3 separate regions of the Homo sapiens genome follow, and all the other regions are linked to region 3. Evidence: promoter capture Hi-C in 16 types of primary human blood cells and fetal thymus (Javierre and others, 2016). All regions are on one chromosome and are shown on one strand. The core of a region is centred on a gene start or on the middle of the fragment in contact, and the rest is flanking DNA. Distances in the headings are between cores, read along the strand shown.

Region 1 (4,154 bases), core at 718-3,217, 2.5 Mb before region 3:
TTGCAAGAATAAGAACTCAGTTTTATCCATGTACTTGTAAGTCAGTCAGATTCTAAGGGCTTGTTTAAAGTAATTAAACTTAGACGAGATTAGATTAATTGATAAACCAGAATACATGTTTATTAGTTTATGTTGAGACTGTAATTGCCAATTAGACTGAAATATTTGTATTGACTCCATAACATACATTCTTCCTAATTGGAAAAGTCTACTTTGAACGTTAAGGTTGGAAGTTTTCTTAGAGAACAAAATTGGTACATAATTTTGTTTGTATAATTTTATAACAAGGCATCCAATCCTACTCATCCTACTCTTGGAATATACTTGCCAATCAGAAAAAAATTTTCACATACATGAGTTAGTGTCTCCCCATTCCCTTTCCCTCAAATACATTAATAGTGAAATAGCTTCATGGTTTTTGGTTTTCCCAACTTTTATTTTGAAAAATTTCAAAATTGCAGAAAAGCTGAAAGAATTAGACAATGACTATGCCTATGTCTTTCACCTGGTTTAAAGAATTATTAATGTTTTGCCACATTTGCTTTATCTCTCTGTATATATGTAAATATATACGCAAACACAATGTTTTTTTCCCCCTGAGCCATTTGAAAATAAGTTGTAGACATAATGACATTGCACTCCAAATACTTTAGGGTGGATCTCCAAAGAATAAGGCATTTTCCTAGAATCACACCCAAGGAATTTAAAATTAACATAATAGAATTAACTGATATCCATTCATACCCAAATTTTCCCAGTTGTTCAAAAATGTTCTTTATTCTCCCTTCCTTTTTTGGGGGAAGGGATACCTAGGATCCAATCAAGGATCTCACACTGCAGTTAGTCTTTCTAGTGTCCTTTAATCTAGAACATATCCCTGCTTCACTTTGCTTTTGTGGTTTTTCCCCTCTGTATTTTTCTGATTGTTTTCTCATGATTAGACTCAGTGAAACATATTTTCGCAAGATATTATATAGATGTTGTATACAGCTCATTGCATCACAACAAGAGGTATGTAATGTCTGTCAGGTTGTCCAGTTATTGGTGATAGTAAATTTGATTGCTAGGCTGGACGCGGTGGCTCACTCCTTTAATCCCAGCACTTTGGGAGGCTGAGGCATGTAGATCACCTGAGGTCAGAAGTTCAAGACCAGCCTGGCCAACATGGTGAAACCCCATCTCTACTGAAAATACAAAAATTAGCTGGGCGTGGCGGCAGGCTCCTGTAACCCCAGCTACTCAGGAGGCTGAGGCAGGAGAATCGCTTGAACCCAGGAGACAGAGGTTGCAGTGAGCCAAGATCGCGCCATTGCACTCCATCCTGGGCAACAAGCGAAATTCCGTCTCAAAAAAAAAAAAAAATATTGATTTCTTGGTCATAGTTGTGTCTGCCACTTCTCTCCATTGTAAAGGTACTGTGATTAATACGTTAGTCTGAGACTATGTAAATATCCATTTTAGCAATTAATGAATCTTGCCTGTATCAGTTACTAAACTGGTCACTTCTAATAACAATTCTATTATTCCCTCTAGATTTATTAGCTAGCAATTTTCTGTAGAAGCACTTTACTTTTTCTCTGTGCTTTTTTTTTTTTAAAAAAAAGCTTTATTATGAACTGTAGAATCTTTGTTTACTCATTGTGTTATAATCTGTTAACTTTTTTTATTCTTCTTTTCGAAGTTCAAGTTGTACCAAATTTGAACTTCCTTTCAGCATAGCTCCTGTGTTGTTTTGACGTGACTTTAGACTTTAGGGATTTCTTTGGTTTCTCTATACCATGTTCCAGACTCACCTTGTATAATTATATTTTTAATAGTTCCATAATATTCTGGCTTATGCACTAAAATTTGTATAATGGTATCTCCAGAGAATATTTAGGTTTTCAGTTATTAACTATATTGCTGTCAACCATAAATATGTTTTCCCATTTAGAGGGATTATTGCTTTAAGATAAATTTCCTAAGTGTTCCTAAATTTCTGGGTTAGAGTATATGGATATTGCTTTATAAAAGTATCATGTAACTTTCACACTATCAGTGGCATTGTATGTGGCTCCATTTTACATGCATTTGTCAGTACTGTTGTGTTGCATTTCATTTTTTACCAGTTTGTGTGCATGTGTTCCTCAGCCTTCTATGCATATTTTTTCTTACAAAATAATTTTTGCTTATTAAATATACACAAATAGTACCTCATAGTTTTATTATAGATTTCTCTGATCACTGTGGTGCCATGTTCATATAATTTAGTTATATCACTTACGTGTGTGCCCAGACGATTTTCTCTGAATGGTGCTTCTTAGTTTCTCATATTTTAGCAAGATGTACAGATAAGCTTTAAAGTAATGTTTTTTAGCCAGAGGTTTGTTATCTGTAGCCTTCAAAACCGATGTAATTGCCTTGGTCTCATCTGGAGATACTGATTCGTTTTTGTTTGGGATGAAGCCAGGCATTTTTTGTTTTTAGAAAGTTCTGCAGGTGATTGTGATGTCCACCATTGTTTGAGAACCACCACTTTGGAGATTTGAAATTATTTCCCCCCAATTTTTTTTATTGCTTGCCAATTTGGTACAGTATTTATAATAATTATAAACCAGTAAATATTAACCACTCAATACTAAGTCAGGATCTGTTATTTTTTCTTTTGTTTGCCACTTTATTTTTTATGTTAGTGAAATAGGCATGTAGTATTTTTTGATTACAGACACATTTTGTCTCGTTATATCTTTTGCCTAAGTGTGATTATTTTGTAATGCGGTCCTATTTATAATAACTGACATTGGTTAAAATCAATTCTTGTATTCCTATTAGTAACTGTTTTTCTACTAACATTGTGAAAGTAATGTGAGACATTTCCCATTCAACAATATGCATATTGGAGTCATTTGAACTTAAAAATAAAATGTATCTTTTTGTTTACAGGGCATGTCTTTAACTTCAGAATGGTTTGCAAAGTATTTGCAATCATCAGCAGCTGCATGTTGGGTAAGTTTGAATTTTTTAAATAAATTTCATTTTATTTTGAAGAATTATACCATTTATTTACCCAGATAATAAAAGTTTTATTTCTAAGTAGCTATAGCTTCTTGGTCATAATCTTATAAGAAGAATAAACTCTTTCTTGTGGGCTGAAAGAGAATACATGAAGAAGATGTTATTTAGTATACACAAATTGAATGTCTCCAAGCTTTTTTAGCTGAAACGGAGTGTTAGGGGAAACTGACTGTCACTTAGTAAATGTTTATTGATGACCTACTGTGTGCCGGGCCCAATTCTTAAATCAGGTTAGATATTTCAGAAAAAGAAAAAAACAGTCCTTCATGGAGTTACAGCCTAAGTAAATGTCAGGTTGTGCTAAGTGCTATGAAGGCAAATAGTTAAGAGTAAAGTACATAGATGGGGTGGGGGGTGCTATTTTATATAGTGATCAGGACAGACATCTCTGAGAGGGTTATAGTTGAGCAAAGAACTGAAAAAAGTGAGAGTGAGCCATGTAAACATCAAGGAGAAGAGTGTTCTAAGCAGAAACCATAGCAGGAGCAAAGATCTCAAAGCAGTTTACTGGCTTATTCATGCTTAAGAGAGAAGGAGGAGGCTGGAGTGGCTGGAGCAGAGTGAGCAGGGAAAGTGGAGTGGAGATGAGGTCAGGGATGTAGGGAGTGGCTATGGCAAGGCCCTGGAGCTTATTTTAAGGGAGATAGGAGGATTTCATGCAAAGGAAGACATGATAGAACTTCAGTTCTTGAAAGGATCATTGTAGCATGGAGAATAGAATTTGTTGGGGTAAGGGACCATTTAGGAGAGTATTACAGTAATCTGAGTGAGAGATAGTGGACCATTGCACAAGGGTGGTCCTGCAGAAATGAGAGAAGCATTTACCTTCAGCTATGCTTTGAAGATTTAGCTGACAGAATTTACTCATGAGCTGGATAAGGGGCAAGAGAGAAAAAAAGTTCAAAGTTTTTCACATGAATAACTGTAAAAATGGAATTGCCTTTTCCTAATAGGGAAAACTGAGAAAGATGGTTGACAGGCAAACTCAACAAATGATCTCATTTTGTTGTTTATAAAGCAGATTACTTAAACAAAATGGATTAGATTTTATGTGTAAGATCTAACATACAAATTATTGTTCTTTCAAAAATAGTCTAGTA
Region 2 (3,882 bases), core at 173-2,672, 2.3 Mb before region 3:
AGCACATCAGTAAGAATGGACGGCTCTCTTTCCTGTTTCTGGTTGCAGTGCATCTTTCTTTATTAGTCATTGGCAAAATCAGCCCAATCTGCCTGGGATGAAGATGCTACATACAACGTGGCTGAGTCTAGATCATGGAATAGGAAATTTTCCGTGAAAATTGTGATCAAGAATAACTTGCAAATTTGACACTGCTCTGTTTTACCAACAGTTGTACCTGGATGCTGTTCTTATTGCCTGATCAAGAGCCTTCTACACTAATTTAACAAGCTTGTCAGCAAAAGTTATGATGTAGAGTGTTTTCTTGTTGTTGAATCAGTGGATAATCTGAAGGATATTAAGAGTTTTTCATTGCTTACTTATTTATGAAAGCATTTGAAAGTACTTTGACTCCCAAGGGTATCTGATCTGATGGAGAGAATGTATCACTTGTACCGATGCGGATAGAACGCTCATTAATTACAGCACAGTTTTCATAAATTCCAACTTCCCTAGGAATTTTGTCTTTTGAAGGCATGTTGGAAGTTGGGGCATTAGGATATAATCTCAGTCCATGTACTAAGCCTCTGCATAACTGAAAGATAGAGTCAATAAAATTCACTCTCTCATTTTTTGTTTTTAATCTCAAGAATTTTTGCCTTGAAGGAAAAATGTAGTGGAGAATTTGATGTTTGAACGTAAGTATTGTTAAAAGCACCTGCTGTGTCAATCATTGCTTTTTGTCACTAGATTTCATTCATTTTGCAGTCAATTACAAAAGTAGAAAAGATGTCATACCAAGCCGGGTGCAGTGGCTCATGCCTGTAATCCCAGCACTTTGGGAGGCTGAGGCGGGTGGATGGCCTGAGGTCAGGAGTTCGAGACCAACCTGACCAACATGGTGAAACCCCATCTCTACTGAAAATACAGAATTAGCCGGGCAGGAGAATCGCTTGAACCAGGGAGGCGGAGGTTGCGATGAGCTGAGATCACGCCATTGCACTTCAGCCTGGGCAACAAGAGCAAAATTCCTCCCCCCGCTGCCCTCCCTCCCCCCCCCCGGCAAAAAAATGTCGAAGCAAAGGAATTTAAGGAAAGTGCAGGTTTCCAGGACTTGTTATTCCTTAATTAAACAATCAAACCCTGTTATGCATCTATCAACCCTCCCTCCCCCCCACACAAATAGTATTTTGAGTCAGTTTACGTTCCATACAGGCACATTTTCATTGTTTTTTTCTGTAAGATTCTTAAGTTTTAAAGAAAGAGCAAATGCAGTCATAAAATTATGAAGAAAAATTCATTAAGATTACATTAGTTTACATTTTTAATGATAGAAAACCTTTATTCAAAGCACAAAATGAGTTGATATGCTTTCTGCACGCAAACCTAAAAAGAGATATGGTTTAAGTATGGAAGCCACTGTCATGTGGCCCAACATTTGAGCACATCTTCTGGCTCAGTCATGTACACTTAACCTCTGGATGACTTTCAGGTATTCAGTTTGAATTTCTTTTATTTAAATGGTTACTCCTGATGGATTCCCGTTTTTCTGGAATTTCTGTTTTTCATTAGTGCATTTCAGAATGCTTTTTTAGTTACGGATTCTTATTTCCAAAATTTTAGCCATTACTTTCTATTGCCTGATCTTGTCTTCATTTTCGTAAACAAATCCCTTCTTAGATAGTGCAGTTAAAATGATGGTACTTTCTACTACTTGCAGAAGAGAATCTGTGTGGCTGGCTTATGCAGTGCTTATTACAGAAACAAACAAGAATCAGTGATTATTCAGTGTTTAGTTTTCTTTGCTTCCCTCTACCCCAATTTATTACTTTTTCTCAAATTATTCTTCAAAAAAGGTACATGAAAATAATATATGGCTGACACATGCTATGATATTTGTTTAGCCGTGGGAAGGAATAGTTGCTATTAACTCAGATGGTTTTATTTTCTGTGTTCCTTTTTGTTTATTGCATTTGTTTATTTAAAGTATTTCCAAAGTGTTTCTTTATAGTACAAATGACTATTTTGAAGCAGTATCTCAAGAATTCAGGGAAAATATATGTTATTGAGGAAGAAGAGGGATTTTTTTTCTTGCCCAAATTATCTAGATTAATGATATATTCATTAAATTTCCCAAATAAATGCCCAGAAATTATTTTCAGCGCACATAGTGAGTGATAGGATTTTTTTTAAGTTTGTAATTATATTGCTGTACCTTTTCAATCCAAACCTTAGACTATTATTTGACTATACTGCTTCCCTGGAGCAAGTAAATACCTTTTTTTTTTTTTTTTAATGTGAGAGAAAACATTTTTGGTCTTTTAAAATTTATTTTTAATTTACAATTGACACATAATATTATATATTTATGGGGTACAATGTGATGTTTCAGTGCATGTATATATTGGTAGACATTGTGTAATGATCAAATCAGAGTGATTACCATATCCAAGAAAACATTTTTCTAGGGGTTAATTCTACTTTGGATCCATAGTAGATGAAAATACTTCTATGGGTTTTCCTTATAGCTGCTAAGCAGGGAACATTGTTAGTAGGTAAATTAAGTTCTAGGACTGAAACCATTTATGTTACTAACAAAGCTTTAGAGCTACTGCAATACTTAAACTTTTTTTTTTTTTTTAATCATGAAGGGCACGGTAGAATTCAACAGTGAATAAATGAAACCTGAATTTTATTTAAAAACCTCACTTCCATAAGCATAAAGGCATGAATCCTAGAAGAGCCTTAGATAGCATCTGCTCTGTTGATGTTCCTTTACAGGTTAGAAGAGTGAGACTCAAAGATGTGAGCTGACTTTTCCAAGATTATTTGGGAGTTGGTGGCAGACCTATGCCCGTTAGCCTGGCAAATTGCCACAGTGGACTAGAGAAGCAAGTTTTGCAAGACCATCTACTGGGGTACAGGAGAGAAATACTGGAATTTCTTTTTTTATTTAATTATGTAGAAATTTTTCTATATATGTTACAATGCATATTACTGTAGTCATATATGTATATGATGTACACGTAATTCATAAATACACATATGTTTGGCTGCCTCTTAACATTTTTGGTCATAGCCATGTGTAATCATGCCAAAAATTGACCACAGGTCTATGTAAAGGGTCTTCATAAATGGAAGAAGTCCCTGTGTAAAATGGGAGATTTCAAGGCATTTTTTAAGAATAGGGAGGGAGAAGGATGATTGGTCAGGTAGACGGCTACTGCATAATGTTATATAACCTTCATCTCCTCAGCTTTCCCCAGCCAAATCTGTTGTACATTCTGCACAGTTTGTACTGCACAAAGGACGACAAAGAAAAGAGAAAATTGAAGTTTGAGTATAGGAGCCAGGAGTTCAGTCGTGGTTCCACGAATGATTGGGAGTTGTGCCTGCCAGAATATACCCTGTAGAAATAGTACATGATGTGTGTATAAAATGTAGTACCTTCTAGCAAAGGCTTAACATGTAGATTGACTTGCTTAATATTTGTTATAAAGGCAAAGCTAGATTAAGTATCCTGAAATGTAACTCTTTCCTTTGTGTACATCTGTCTAATTTGCTGTCTAGGAATCCCAGTCAGAAGTTCCAGCCTGCCACTGTTCTCTGATGCCATGCCAGCACCAACTCAACTGTTTTTTCCTCTCATCCGTAACTGTGAACTGAGCAGGATCTATGGCACTGCATGTTACTGCCACCACAAACATCTCTGTTGTTCCTCATCGTACATTCCTCAGAGTCGACTGAGATACACACCTCATCCAGCATATGCTACCTTTTGCAGGCCAAAGGAGAACTGGTGGCAGTACACCCAAGGAAGGAGATATGCTTCCACACCACAGAAATTTTACCTCACACCTCCACAAGTCAATAGCATCCTTAAAGCTAATGAATACAGTTTCA
Region 3 (3,905 bases), core at 138-2,637:
ATAAGATGATTCTTAAGGCCCCTATCAGCTCTAACATTTTTTGACGTCTAAGCACTTCATCCTACTTCAAACTCCTGAAATCCCAAATTCATCCTGAAGCCTTTCCACACTCAATACCACTTAAACATCAGGAAGACTCACTTTCAAATTTCACCCCGTCATTAAAAGATCTTTGTGCATACAACTAATGTTTATCCTTGCATTTTTATTTACAAGTGCACTATCTTCTCCACATCCTTTCATTGCTGCCTACACATCTTAACAATTGATTAACTGTTCATGCACGAGAGCAGAGCTGGGTCTCATCCCTGGATCCATCCTTCCGGGGACTATTCTCCACTTTCCCAGAGCCTTGTACTGCTCTAATGTTTGCGGAATGGAAATAAATCAATGGCAAGTACAGTTAACTCACTTGCTTACACAGTATGCAAAAGCGGGTAGGGGATGTGCAGATGTGTATAAAAGCCCTGTAAGGTGGTAACCTGAAGTCTTCTAACAAGGTCCTTTCATCAGGAAAATTACAGAAAACCCTTAAAGAAACTGAAGTCTCTTAACAATTCATATATACTGTTCTCAATGAGTGCCTAGTGCTTCGCTAGAAAAAGGCACTGAAATAGAGTTCAAGATTTCTACCTACGAAATGCTATAAATGAAATCAGGAGAGAAAGGGAGGTTATGGGGGCAGCTTCCTAATAAAGGGTCTCTCAATACTTCCCAGGCCATTTTAGCCCACTTCAGTTCCCCAAACTTGCGCAGGAAGGCAGAGCCCCCTCCTGAGGCTTCTCACACTGCGCTAATTAGCCAGCATGGTTGAGTTTTCACTACATCAGCCAGGGAAAAACACAAAACAAAACCAATCACCCTCTACTGGGCCGCGAAAACCTAAAGGCCCTTGAGGCCCTGGGGCGCGGTCTGGACGCGGGTGCGCCGGAACCTGAACCCTCGCCAGGAGCGCGATCCTCGTGCTGGGGCAGCTCCTGCTTTACCTGTGGCGAGGCCTGCTTCCCGTAGCGGGTGACCCCGGGACCGACCAACTCGCTGGGCCGCACGTCCCGTCCCGCCGCGCCGCACGCCGGCTCCTCAGCCCGCCCTACACAGCGCAGCCGCGCTCCCGGGCCCACGTGGGCCGCGCCCGGAGTGGGCGAGACCATGTGCCGGGTTACGCGGGGAGACAGCGGGCTACGTGCTCTGAAAAGAGCCAGCCAGGGGCCCCGGCTACCCTTCTCCGGCTCGCTATTCCTCTGAAGTCCTGTGGACTTGGAGTCTGAAAATTCCTCGAGTGGTAGAGATGCCTCAGCTAGGATGACAGCGTGGGGACGGCCGGCGGCGTCCCCTGCCCCAGGCCGCGGTGGCGGCGCCGCGACCCCGCCCTCTCGCGCCTGTCCTTCCCTCTGCTCCCAGCCTTTGCTGGGCGCCAGACCCGGCTTTGCCGTCCGGCTATTAGCCTACTGTGGCTAGTCACCCCCGGGGTCCCGGCCTTCTCGGGCTGGGGCCGCCGCCACCGCGGCAGGACGGGGAGGCGGGCCATGGCGTCCTGCGTGGGGAGCCGGACCCTAAGCAAGGATGATGTGAACTACAAAATGCATTTCCGGATGATCAACGAGCAGCAAGTGGAGGACATCACCATTGACTTCTTCTACCGGCCGCATACCATCACCCTGCTCAGCTTCACCATCGTCAGCCTCATGTACTTCGCCTTTACCAGGTGGGGCGGCCCAGCCGAGCGGGGGGCGCGTCCAAGGGCTAGGGAAGAGGCGGGAGGGAGGGTGGCGGGGAGGGGGGCCCGGCATGGCTCTGGGTGAGGAAGTGGGCTGGCTGCTCCACGCACACGCACTGGCAGCCCGCCGCCCACGCGGCCCCTCCGCCCGCCCGGTGTCTCACAGTACGCTAGCCTGCTCCCCTACCCCTCAGTGCCCCTTCTCCATACAGCGCCTCCGGTTACACGGGGAACGCACGCGAGTCACCTAGCACGATCGCCCCCTCACCCACCGCACTCAGCATCGCTCCACACAACATCACGACGCGGGCCCCTCCTCTGCACTGCTCCAGCCTTCGTCCCTACCCAGCACACCGCATGAATCATGTCGTATGCACCACTTTCAGCACACACCGCTACACATACAAAGCACCCCAATCCACAGCGCCTGCAGGCACCATACACAGGCCCAGGACACAACCTAGATCCCTTCCTGTGGAACTCCGGTATTCGGCACTATCCGTAACGCACAAAAAATGCACATGTGTGCTGCATACACGGTCTTTCCTGTGCAGCACTTCCCGTATGCATTGCACACAAGTCATCCAGCATAACACTTCCCCCAGCCTCAAACACTACCATCTGTACCACGGCACAAACTGCCACTCTAAACACACACCTCACAGCGGACCTTTCCTTTCCAGCACAGCCCAATACCCATCATCTGTGTACATGGCTGCACAGACACCAGCCCGCCACACATCACGCGGTGCATACCCTGCTCACTCATTACCTAACATACGTGCTGAAATGTGATCTTGTCCAGCAATTTTAATGGTGCCTGGGGTATAGTAACTGCTGTGTGTTAAATGAAACACATAAACCTCACACAGCATAACACAACTCTCTTATTCCCTGGAAAACATACACACACATTCTAATATATACCGGTTCATAGGAGCTGCCCAGCCCAAATCTTGAACACACCTCATGTTAACTCTGGCACTGCGCCTGTGGCTCCTCATTCCTAACCTAGAGAACTAATTCATCCTTGGTTCATAAGGAGGTACACACCGTGGTTCCTACTTAGAATGATTTATACTTTCTGAATGAACCTCTTTAAAGAAAGGGAAGTCACACCTCTCTCACCATTATGGCTTAAAAGGCCAACTTAGAGTAGAGTAGTTTTTGAGCCACACTTTTGGTTTCAAAACTGGCTGTGTGTCCTTAATTAAGTTGCATAACCTTGCTCTGAGCCTCAGGGGCCACACTCGTAAAATGGGGATGAAATATCTACTTATATAGGGTTATGAAAATTAAATGAATGTGTGTGAATGCATTTAGCAGAGTCCCTGGAGCACAATGTACAATTCATGTCAGTTACTTCTCTCCCAGTATTTTTATCCAACAATCAAGGTTCTCTGTCAGGGTCAGCAGAACATGTGTAGGGATATATATATTGGGTAGTCACAAGGATTGAGAGAACTTCTAGTATTTGGGAGGGGGAGCAGTTAACGGATACTAAATGTATTGTGACATATGTGACAGCGCTGTACAACATAAAGGGAATTGTCTTCTACACAGTCGTTTGCATACACACACACAAGTGCCGGTGGTGCCTCCCTTAGGAATAACTGCAGTTTTTCAAATCCTCATAAAACTAATATCCTCCCACATCACACTTGTTCCTTACCTCTGGGATTCATTTGACTCTTGGTTCTTGTTATGTAAGTGTTTATCCATTTGAAAGAATCTACCTAAAGGTATAAAGCTTAAGTAACAATTGCTTACTCTTTAATGATTGAGGGATCTTGCCACTATTACTATAAAATCTGCTAAAGCTGTGCAGCAGGTGAAGACCAGACCTTTCCACAGTACCTGACCAGACATATTTCTAGCTTTGGAGAGAAATGAATCATGTCCCTAACTATGGTTACTTTCAAATACTTCATTATGTTGCCTGATTTTATCACTTAATAGCTGTGTGGCCACATAATTTTGCTAGGCCTCAGTTTCCTTATCTGTATGTAAAATGAAAATATCAATACATTAATCTGTCGGGATTATTTGTCATGAGGATTAAATTCATCTTTTTAGATAATCTGTTTAGCTCAGTGCATGGCAAGTATTAAGTGCTTAATAAACATTAGTGGTTATTACGATGTGATTTCATTGAATGCTACTGTCTTCTAATTTATATTTATTATTG

The links. The method cuts DNA at HindIII sites, captures the fragments that hold promoters and counts their contacts. A CHiCAGO score of 5 or more calls a contact.
Region 1: a contact is called between a fragment that was not itself captured here and the fragment with the promoter of PTDSS1 in region 3, in 1 of 17 cell types (activated CD4 T cells). The highest score is 6.3, in activated CD4 T cells.
Region 2: a contact is called between a fragment that was not itself captured here and the fragment with the promoter of PTDSS1 in region 3, in 2 of 17 cell types (activated CD4 T cells and fetal thymus). The highest score is 7.4, in activated CD4 T cells.

What each region holds. Positions count from the first base shown.
Region 1 is chr8:93,769,667-93,773,820 of GRCh38, forward strand. TMEM67 (transmembrane protein 67) reads left to right here. Exons shown (of 28, transcript NM_153704.6): 7 at 2,923-2,985. Among named protein-coding and RNA genes, the nearest start is that of TMEM67, 17 kb to the left of the region's middle. The HindIII fragment of the contact is 731 bases long and covers 1,603-2,333 here.
Region 2 is chr8:93,918,467-93,922,348 of GRCh38, forward strand. It overlaps PDP1 (pyruvate dehydrogenase phosphatase catalytic subunit 1), which reads left to right. Exons shown (of 2, transcript NM_018444.4): 2 at 3,550-3,882. The coding sequence starts at 3,594. Among named protein-coding and RNA genes, the nearest start is that of PDP1, 3.5 kb to the left of the region's middle. The HindIII fragment of the contact is 2,309 bases long and covers 269-2,577 here.
Region 3 is chr8:96,260,515-96,264,419 of GRCh38, forward strand. It overlaps PTDSS1 (phosphatidylserine synthase 1), which reads left to right and starts at 1,388. Exons shown (of 13, transcript NM_014754.3): 1 at 1,388-1,705. The coding sequence starts at 1,527. It overlaps MTERF3 (mitochondrial transcription termination factor 3), which reads right to left and starts at 1,096. Exons shown (of 8, transcript NM_015942.5): 1 at 987-1,096. RefSeq lists enhancers at 1-542, 694-753, 1,236-1,928, 2,074-2,313 and silencers at 917-1,241, 994-1,143, 1,324-1,693, 1,744-1,923. The HindIII fragment of the contact is 8,922 bases long and covers 1-3,465 here.